2 separate regions of the Homo sapiens genome follow, and region 2 is linked to region 1. Evidence: promoter capture Hi-C in human tissues and cell types (Jung and others, 2019). All regions are on one chromosome and are shown on one strand. The core of a region is centred on a gene start or on the middle of the fragment in contact, and the rest is flanking DNA. Distances in the headings are between cores, read along the strand shown.

What was found. Contacts are between HindIII fragments. The study calls those that stand out against the background at their distance.
Region 2: a fragment that was not itself captured here is called in contact with the fragment with the promoter of SELL in region 1 in 1 of the 25 tissues and cell types used here (H1 embryonic stem cells).

Annotation. Positions count from the first base shown.
Region 1 is chr1:169,709,231-169,714,878 of GRCh38, forward strand. SELL (selectin L) reads right to left here and starts at 2,390. Exons shown (of 9, transcript NM_000655.5): 1 at 2,266-2,390; 2 at 1,206-1,287. The coding sequence starts at 2,268. The HindIII fragment of the contact is 4,341 bases long and covers 1,126-5,466 here.
Region 2 is chr1:169,529,596-169,535,243 of GRCh38, forward strand. It overlaps F5 (coagulation factor V), which reads right to left. Exons shown (of 25, transcript NM_000130.5): 15 at 1,191-1,427; 16 at 13-223. Among named protein-coding and RNA genes, the nearest start is that of SLC19A2, 46 kb to the left of the region's middle. RefSeq lists an enhancer at 2,011-2,180. The HindIII fragment of the contact is 3,580 bases long and covers 1,593-5,172 here.

The DNA of each region.
Region 1 (5,648 bases), core at 1,140-3,639:
CACATATGTACCTATGGGAGAAGCATAATAAGGACAGGAAGAACAGTGACATACTTTTAAGTAACCTCTTTTACATAAAAAACATTTTATTTTACCATAGGAAGAACTGCTTCTGGAAAAGCCCAATATACCACTCAACTCTTATATATCTAACTGTATAATTTTTAAAAAGAACAATTTACAAAGCCAAATGGTATAGGATTATGAAATTCATTAGATCATGTTCTATACACAAAGAGACTCAACTGATGATGTTTAATAAACATATGGACCCATCAAATATGAGGGCTTTGAAGATATCTAATTAAACACATAATTACACAATGACTTCATAATAATATATGGCATTCTAAGCATGGTATGATCTACATGAATCACTATTTAATACAGTAAAGAAACAGATATAATTGATGGTAAAGAGCATCATAAAATAAACATTTTGAACAGAGTTTTGAATGAGCATTCCACTAGAATGCAAGTTCTAAGAGGGAAAAAACTGTTGTGTCCACTGCTGTATCCTTAGTGCCTAGCATAAATTTCACACATTGTAGGGACTCAGAAAATACCTGTTGTATGAAAAGAGCACTAAGTTTCTATGTGACACAGTGCAGACATGGCATAAGGAATGTGTGAACGGGAGAGTTAGCATGTTTGCTTGGCTAGAGCTGAAAATCCAGGCTAGGGAGAAAGAAGACATTAGTTTACTTAGGAAATGAAAAACCAAGTTCAAAGCTATTGCTGGAGAGTCTTCAAGAATCAGATATAAAATTTGTCACAACAATGGGAGAAGGACCAAAAAATGATAAACCCCCGTCCCTTAATAAGCTCGTATTGTAATTGTAGAAATGACATTAATGTACACTGAACTATGAATAAAAAATAGAAAATGAGGTGCTAAATATTTGGTACAGATTGTAAGTACCTTAACAGAGATTTCTTAATTAACATTATTCCTTTATAATTGAGGGATTTTGTGGGGTTATTGGGATTTGAACTCTACAGCATGGGCTATTATAGGTTAAAAATAGTGTTCAGGAGTTTCTGGGGAAGAACTAAAGGTAAGAAGAAAAGAGATGTTTACAGAAGGGATAGAATTAACAGCTCTGTGAAATAATTTTCCCTTAGACTATGTATAACTAGTGGATATTTAAGAAAAATGAATATAAGTAAAATAGACTTAGCGATATATAAATATCATAACATACCACAACAGAGCATTGTCCACCCCCACAACTTGAAGATGTTCCATAAGTCCCTCTGGGTGCTCTGACATTTCCATGGAAATATCTGCAAATGAAATACAAAATTATATTTAGATGTATACTCTTAAACCACACATTTATAGCCTTTGAGGTGGTGCTTACAACTTTCTTAATAATCAGAATAAAACACATATGTCTACTAACCCTGTCTGAGGTAACAGGTTTCTCAGACATAGATGAAAAATTACTTCAAATTTACATCAGAACTGATGCACAGTTTTGTTTTGTTCTATTTTATTTTTACGCTTTAGTCTCAAGTTGCTAATCGGTACTGCCCTGAATTTTTTCTATGGTTTGGTAATTTTTATACCTGCTTTTCTGCTGAGCTATTAGATAAAACTATTTAATATTTACTATGTATATTTTTTAAAGTATTGTTGCTGCTTAATTAACTATTGATGCTTATATTTAATGTTATAGCCTCACTCTTGATCATAATGGGTCAATGCCTCAAATACCTAAAAAAAAAAAAAATTAGATAGCCAGACACCAGGAAAGAAAAGTATTTCTTTTTTTAATAAAAAGAAATACCTTTTTGAGCAACTGAAATGACAAAGTCACAAATTTCCTGCACACCTTAAAATATACTTAATGTAAATGACGAGTTAATGGGTGCAGCACACCAACATGGCACATGTATACATGTGTGACAAACCTGTATGTTGTGCACATGTACCCTAGAACTTAAAGTATAATTTTAAAAAAATTCTATCTTCCAAAGCATATCACTTCTCAGGTAGACACAGTGTTTATTGCAAAAGATCTGATTTCAATAGTATTTCTTCAAGAGTCTCCCCAGAGACAAAGTCAAGAAGAGGAAATCAGCATATCTGAGAAGAAAGATTTCAGGATCACTTTTTTTGAGGGTCTGAGAAAATGTTTAGTTTCTATATTATTTAAAACCAGAATTGAAATGGGGTGATTCCTATCCTTGCCACCTGCCTCTACAACCCCAAGAGTTTCTATCTGAGCATCTAAACGTCTTTTAGGCTGAAAGGCTCACCATGGCTTTGCTTGGTCCTTCTCTAGTTCTTCTGCAGCCCATTGAGCCTCTTGACTTAGCACAAGGGTCTCAGGTCCTTGCCCAAAGGGAGTGTGCTGTGCTGCAGGTAGACTGCACTGAATGTCAACAGAAAGCCTTGCTTTCTTTCATTTCTCTAACCCAGTCTCACATCCTCCTCCTCCTCCCCTTTTCCCTCCCCTTCCTCCTGCACTTCTCTTTCCTCTTTCCCCACCCCTTTCCTAGACTGGCCTCTATTGCCTCCCACTGAGACAAAAATGAACTGCTGATCAGAAAGTAATGTGACTAGATTCTCTCTTCCTTCCCTCCTTTCTATCCTTCCTTCCATTCTCCTATGCATCTTTCCTTACCCTCCTCCTCCTTCACTCATTGTTGTTGCTGTTCTTCTTCCTCTTCTTTTTCCTCCTGCTCCTCTTCTTCTACTTGTTCTTGTTCTTGTTTTTGTTTGGTTCTTGTTCTCCTCTTCCTCCTTCTCTCTCTCCTCCTCCTCCTTCTTTTCCACCACCCTCCCCTATCTTTTTCATAAATGCTAAACTAACTCTTGGCTACCTGTGGTAAATGGCCCTTGGAAATTGCAAATACTACAAATCAAAACTGCATTTCAGACATATTTATGATGTTTGCAAAACTTCAGTAGAGCTAAGCAGTGGACTTGACTCGTTTCGGTTCCTTCACCTCCGTCTTTCCTTGCTCACCACCTAGTGGACGTCCTTGTTAGTGGCACTTCCTGAAGTTAACCCCTGAAGAGAGCCCATGCTCTCTAGCTTTTCACCGTGTAGGTTTGGGAGCCTACAAGTACCTTTAATATTCTTGGACTATAAAATGAGATGGTTTTATAAGACTGCATGTGAAATTAGGACCCATATGATGAAGGACAATAAAAAGGAAGACCCACTGATGTGAGTCAATGAGTCAAATGCAAATCAGATTTGCATTTTTAGGAAAATAATAATAACAACAACAAAAACTCTGAAGCTCAGCGCCCCATATTTATTATATTGTTTAATCTTTATAACAGCTCTCTGCTATAGATATGATTATTATCCCCATTCTAAAGAGTCTCAAAGAGGTTAAGAAACAAATTCAAAAACTAGCGAAAGACAAGAAATAACTAAGATCAGAGCAGAACCATAGGAGGTAGAGACACGAAAAAGCCTTCAAAAAATCAATAAATCCAGGAGCTGCATTTTGAAAAGATTAACAAAATAGATGGACCACTAGCTAGACTAATAAGAAAGAAGAATCAATAGACACAATAAAAAATGGTAAAGGGGATATTACCACTGATCCCGTAGAAATACAAACTACCATCAGAGATTACTATAAACATCTTTACACAAATAAACTAGAAAATCTAGAAGAAATGGATAAATTCCTGGACACATACACCCTCCCAAGACTAAACCAGGAAGAAGTCAAATCCCTGAATAGACTAATAACAAGTTCTGAAATTAAGGCAGCAATTAATAGCCTACCAACTAAAAAAAGCCCAGGACCAGATGGATTCACAGCCAAATTCTACCAGAGGTACAAAGAGGTGCTGGTACCATTCCTTCTGAAACTATTCCAGAGAATAGAAAAAGAGGAACTCCTCCCTCACTCATTTTATGAGGCCAGCATCATCCTGATACTAAAACCTGGCAGAGACACAACAAAAAAAGAAAATTTCAGGCCAATATCCCTGATGAACATCATTGCGAAAATACTCAATAAAATACGGCAAACTGAATCCAGCAGCACATCAAAAAGCTTATCAACCACAATCAAGTTGGCTTCATCCCTGGAATGCAAGGCTGGTTCAACATACACAAATCAATAAACAGAATCCATTACGTAAACAGAACCAATCACAAAAACCACGTGATTATCTCAATAGATGCAGAAAAGGCCTTGGATAAAATTCAACACCCCTTCATGCTAAAAACTCTCAATAAACTAGGTATTGATGGAACGTATCTCAAAATAATAAGAGCTATTTATGACAAACCCACAGCCAATAGCATACTGAATGGGCAAAAACTGAAAGCGTTCCCTTTAAAAACTGGCACAAGACAAGTATGCCTCTCTCACCACTCCTGTTCAACATAGTATTGGAAGTTCTGGCCAGGGCAATCAGGCAAGAGAAAGAAATAAAGTGTATTCAAATAGAAGAGAGGAAGTCAAATTGTGTCTGTTTGCAGATGACATGATTGTATATTTAGAAAATCCCATTGTCTCAGCCCAAAATCTCCTTAAACTGATCAGCAACTTCAGCAAAGTCTCAGGTTACAAAATCAATGTGAAAAAATCACAAGAATTCCTATACAGCAATAATAGACAAACAGAGAGCCAAATCATGAGTGAACTCCCATTCACGATTGCTACAAAGAGAATAAAATACCTAGGAATCCAACTTACAAGGAATGTGAAGGACCTATTCAAGGAGAACTACAAACCACTGCTCAAGGAAATAAGAGAGGACACAAATGAATGGAAAAACATTCCATGCTCATGGGTAGGAAGAATCAATATCATGAAAATGACCATACTGCCCAAGGTAATTTATAGATTCAGTGCTATCCCCATCAAGCTACTACTGACTTTTTTCACAGAATTAGAAAAAAACTACTTTAAATTTCATATGGAACCAAAAAAGAGCTTGTATAGCCAAGACAATCCTAAGCAAAAAGAACAAAGCTGGAGGCATCATGCTACCTGACTTCAAACTATACTACAAGGCTATAGTAACCAAAACAGCATGGTGCTGGTACAAAAACAGATATATGGACCAACGGAACAGAACAGAGGCATCAGAAATAACACCACACATCTACAACCATCTGATCTTTGACAAAGCTGACAAAAAGAAGCAATTGGGAAAGGATTCCCCATTTAATAAATGATGTTGGGAAAACTGGCTAGCCATATGCAGAAAACTGAAACTGGATCCCTTCCTTACACCTTATATAAAAATTAACTCAAGATGGATTAAAGACTTAAATGGAAGACCTAAAACCATAAAAATTCTAGGAGAAAACCTAGGCAATACCATTCAGGACGTAGGTATGGGCAAAGACTTCATGACTAAAACACCAAAAGCAACAGCAACAAAAGCCAAAATTGACAAATGGGATCTAATTAAACTAAAGAGCTTCTGCACAGTAGAAAAAAAAAAACTATCATCAAAGTGAACAGGAAACCTACAGAATGGGAGAAAATTTTTGCAATCTATTCACCTGACAAAGGGCTAATATCCAAAATCTACAAGAAACTTAAACAAATTTACAAGAAAAAACAAACAACACCATCAAAAAGTGAGTGAAGGATATGAACAGATGCTTCTCAAAAGAAGAAGTTTATGCAGTCAACAAACATATGAAAAAAAG
Region 2 (5,648 bases), core at 2,133-4,632, 180 kb before region 1:
TGAGGAAAATACCGTGAAACTCATGGGATTTTTTCATTTCTGAGGATGTGAGTCTCCAAGAACTTCGGGACTTCTTTTCATAGTACCAGCTCTTCTTTTCATCAAAGGTCATAAATAGTAAGACAAATTCTCTCATGTCCATAGGCATGTTGCTGTCCTTATGTAGTATTCCTTTTTGGCAGATTAGGAGGGGACCTATCAAGCCTGAGTGAATATCTTTTTCCTGGAAAAACAGAGTAAATTGTATTGCCTCTTTCTCAGGAATTTCCTTGCTCTTCTGATAATCACTCATCATATAGAAAAGGAAACTTTCTGATAGGCTCTGAATTTGAAGATGAAGATTATAAATGAATGGCATAATAAGCCTGGATATTTATCACCTAATTCTGTTGTATTCATAATCCTCCTTCCTCTGATTGATCTTTATCCCAGTAACAATGATGATAATAATAAATTGATAATATAAGGGATACTATTTATTGAGAATCTATTACTATATTAAATGATTTGCCTGCAATCTCCCATTTAATCCTGACAACTATCTTATATGGTAAATATAAATTCATTCATTGAACAAATATTTACCAAGTGCTTACCATGCACTATGTACTGTTATCTCATTTTTAACTTCTGATACCAGGCTAAGAGAGGTCAAGGAATTTCCTAGGATTATGCATTGACAGGGTAAAAATTTAAATCTGAGTCTGTGCTCTTTCCACTATGCCTGAAATGGAGGAGTTGTTTCTCTTTTTAATTGACAGATAAAATTGTATGCATATACTGTGTATGACATATTGTTTTGAAGTATATATACATTGCAGAATGTCAGATAAAGGAGTCTTGACTTTGCAGTTCTTTTCATAAAGAAAGAGCAGAACATAGCTAATACTTGTTCAAGAAAATTTCAAATAAATGCCATCTTCTGTAAATGTAGGCATTCTAATTCATGGCCAATCATTCAAGTAATCTTTCCTCCTCTCCACTGAATAAATGTTTCTCTCTCTGTCATCTGAAGAGCTGCATGGAGAGTCCCTGGTTATGATAAATGCAGACTGTTAACCACACCCTTATGCATTCCTCATGAAAAGCAAGACAGACATTTGACAAGAAATAACCCCGACTCTTCCATTTGGTGGACTTCAGATTACGAGGTTAGGGGAATGAGAAAAACTTTCAATGAAAGTACCTACTGGGTTCACAGCTGAGTAGTAGGCCCAAGCCCGACAGGCAGAGCCAGGACTTTCTGGCCCTGATCGCTCAGTGGCATGCCATACGTAGGTATAACTGCTATTTGGCTGAACAGCATTATCTTCCTTAAACCATTCAGGAGAGTCATCTTCATAAGTCTTTCCCTCTGATGATTTTTCATAGGAAAGTCCATGGGCATGTAGAGAATACGGTCTGGATGCTAAATTTTTAAAACGAACCTAGGAAAAGGAATGATCCACAAATGTACTTAAGCTTAACAAAAATCTAAACCACAAAAATGTCAGCATTATAAGTCAAAATGGCTGGTTATAAAATCGGAGCTAAGATATAAGGTACAAAATAACTTATGTATATTATTTCATTTAATTTTCATAACCATCCTGTGAGATATGGCCCAAGTAGTTTTCTCCAGAAATACCAAAAGATATTTGTTCTTAGGCTCAAGGCTAAAGTACTGACATTATCTACTAATGAAATGAGAGTGATAGGTAGTGGAGATGTGAAGATGAAAGAAGCTTGATTCTTGTTCATAAGAAGCTTTTAAGCTCCTGCTGAAACAGACATGCACATGGGCATCCACACTACAAATCTGGAGACAACAGGTGCTATATACAAAGTCTAAGTGGGTTCAGATGACAATGCCCTGGAGGAACAATTTGGTTGAATATTTAGGAGTGGTTGGAAGAATTAAGGTAAGTTTCTTAGAGGAAATGGAATTGGCCATCATAGAATGAACAGGAGCTAGAAAGACATTTCAGACTCTCAGAAGGGCAGAAGGATGCCTGTGAGCAGGGGAGTAAAGGAAGAGTTTGGGGAATAGCAAGGATCTCGGTGGAACTGGGCTGTGAAATGCACAGGGACAGGTGGAACCTGGTGAGAAATGAGGCTAGAAAAGGAGCAGGTTGGGGCCAGATGGTAAAGGACTTAAATGCCATATGAGAAGTCTTCACACCCCAGCAGTCAGACCCATGAAGCTCCTCCCAGCCCTTCTATAACTTCTAGTGATTAAAGACTCCCTAATTGTCTGTTCCTTATTTTATTCTACAAAGCCAGCATCACCCTAATAACAAAACCTGGCAAAGACACAATGAATAATGAAAACTACCGGCCAATATCTCTGATGTACATAGACACAAAAATCTTCAACAAAATATTGGCAAACCAAATCCAGCAGCAAATTAAAAATTAATTCATCACAATCACATAGGCTTCATTCCTAGGATGCAAAGTGGCTCCACATATGCAAATCAATAAATGTGATTCACCACATAAACCGCATTAAAAACAAAAACAGTATCATCATCTCAATAAATGTGGAAAAAGCTTTTGATAAAACCTAACATCCCTTCATGATAAAAACCCTCAACAAACTAGGCATTGAAGGAACATACTTCAAACTAATAGGAGCCATCTATGACAAACCTACAGCCAACATCATACTGAATGAGCAAAAGCTGAAAGCCTTCCCCGTGAGAACTGGAACAAGACATGGATGCCCAATCTCATCACTCTTATTCAACATAGTACTGGAAATTCTAGTCACAGCAATCAAGCAAGAGAAAGAAATAAAAGGCAACCAAAGAAGAAAAGAAGTTAAAGTATCTCTCTTCATTGGCAATATGATTCTGTACCTAGAAAACCCTAAAGACTCCATGAAAAGGCTCCAGGAACTGATAAATGACTTCAGTAAAGTTTCAGGATGCAAGATTAATGTACAAAATCAATTATACAAAATAAAATGTACAAATGTACAAAATAGCATTTCTATACATCAGTAATGTTCAAACTGAGAGCGAAATCAAGAACGAAATCCCATTAAACATAGCCACACACACATACAAAATACCTAGGAAAACATCTAACCAAAGAGGTGAAAGATCTCTATAAGAAGAATTACAAAACACTGATGAAAGAAATCATAGATGACACAAACAAATGGAAAAACATTCTATGCTTATGTATTGGAAGAATCAGTATTGTTAAAATAGCCATTGTGCCCAAAGCAATCTACAGATTCAACACTATTTTTTAACAACTACTGGAATCATTTTCCTCAGGATTAGACAAAGCTATTCTAAAATTCATATGGAATCAAAAAAGAGCCTGAATAGCCAAAGCAATCCTAAGCAAAAAGAACAAATCTGGAGGTATCACAGTACCTGACTTGAAACTATACTATAAAGTTACAATAACCAAAATAGCATGGTACTGATACAAAAACAGACACATAGGCCAATGAAACAGAATAAAGAACCCAGAAATAAAGCCACACACTTACAACCACCTGAACTTTGACAAAGTCAACAACAACAGCAACAACAACAACAAAAAACAAGGGGAAAAGGACTCATATTTAATAAATGGTGCTGGAATAGCCGGCTACCCATATGTGGAAGAATGAAACTGAACCCCAATGAATCCAATGAAACTGGATTCATCATATACAAAAATTAACTCAAAATGGATTAAAGATTTAAATGTCAGACCTCAAACTATAAGAATCCTAGAAGAAAAACCTAGGAAACACCATTCTGGATATCAGCCTTGGGAAAGAATTTATGACTAATTCCTCAAAAGCATTTCAACAAAAGCAAAAATTGACAAATTAAACTAAAGAGCTTCTGCTCAGCAAAAGAAGCTATCTACAGAGTGAACAGACACAGAATAGAAAAAATATTCACAAAGTATGTATCTGACAAAGGTCTAATATCCAGAAACTATAAGATAGTTAAACAATTGAACAAGCGAAATACAAATAACCCCATTAAAAAGTGGGCAAAAGACATGAACAGATACTTATCAAAAGAAGACATACAAATAGCCAACAAATGTGAAAAAAATGCTCAACATCACTAATCATCAGAGAAATGCAAATCAATACCACAGTGAAATACCATCTCACACCAGTCAGAATGGCTATTAGTACAAAGTCAAAAAATAGATGCTGGTGAGGCTGTGAAGAAAAGGGAATGCTTATACACTGCTGCTTAGAATGTAAATTAGCCACTGTGGAAAGAAGTTTGGGGGTTTCTCAAAGAATTTGAAACAGAACTACTATTTTAAGGGAGGAGACCACCCCTCATATTGTCTTATGCCCAATTTCTGCCTCCAAAGAAAGAAGAAGTAAAAACTAAAAGGCAGAAATGAAATCCACAAGCAGACAGCCCGGCGCCACACCCTGGACCTGGTAGTTAAAGATCGACCCGTGACCTAATCGGTTATGTTATCTATAGATTACAGACATTGTATAGAAAAGCACTGTGAAAATCCCTGTCCTGTTCTGTTCTGTTCTAATTACTGGTGCATGCAGCCCCCAGTCACGTACCCCCTCCTTGCTCAATCAATCACGACCCACTCACGTGGACCCTCTTAGAGTTGTGAGCCCTTAAAAGGGACAGGAATTGCTCACTCGGGGAGCTCGGTTGTTGGAGACATGAGTCTTGCCAAAGCTCCCGGCTGAATAAAGCCCTTCCTTCTTTAACTTGGTGTCTGAGGGGTTTTTGTCTGTGGCTTGTCCTGCTACAATTTGACCTAGCAATTCTATTACTGGGTATATAGCCAAAAAAGAAAATAAATTGTTCAGCCGGGCGCAATGGCTCATGCCTGTAATCCCAGCACTTTGGGAAGCTGAGGCAGGCAGATTGCCCGAGGTCAGGAGTTTGAGACCAGCCTGGCCAACATGGTAAAACCCTGTCTCTACTAAAAATACAAAAATTAGCTGGGCATGGTGGTGGGTGCCTGTAATCCCAGCTACTCGGGAGGCTGAGGCAGGAGAATTGCTTGAACCTGGGAGGCAGAGGTTGCAGTGAGTTGAGATCATACCTCTGTACTCCAGCCTGGGCGACAGAGTGAGACTCCATCTCAAAAAAAAAAAAAAGAAAGAAAGACAGAAAATACATTGTTCTACTGAAAAGACACATGTACTAGGATGTTCATCACAGCATTATTCACAGTAGCAAAGACATGGAATCAATCTAGGTGCCCATCAGTGGTGGACTACATAAAGAAAATATGGTACATATGCACCATGGAATACTACGCAGCCATAACAAAGACTGAAATCACGTCCTTTGCAACAACATGGATGCCAGCTGGAGGCTATTATGCTAAGTGAATTAATGCAGAAACAGAAAGCCAAATACCACATGTTCTCACTTATAAGTGGGAGCTAAACATTGGGTACTCATGAACATAAAGATGGCAATAAACACTGGGGACTTCTAGAAGGGGGAAGGAAGGAGATGAGCAAGGGATGAAAAACTATTGGGTACTATGCACGCTACTTGGATGATGGGATCAATCATACCCTAAACAACAGCATCACATAATATACCCAGATAACAAAACTGCACATATGCCCCCTGAATCTAAAATAAAAGTTAAAATTATTTTAAAAATACACAAATGAAGTCATTTTTATCTAGTGAAATCCAGGGCTA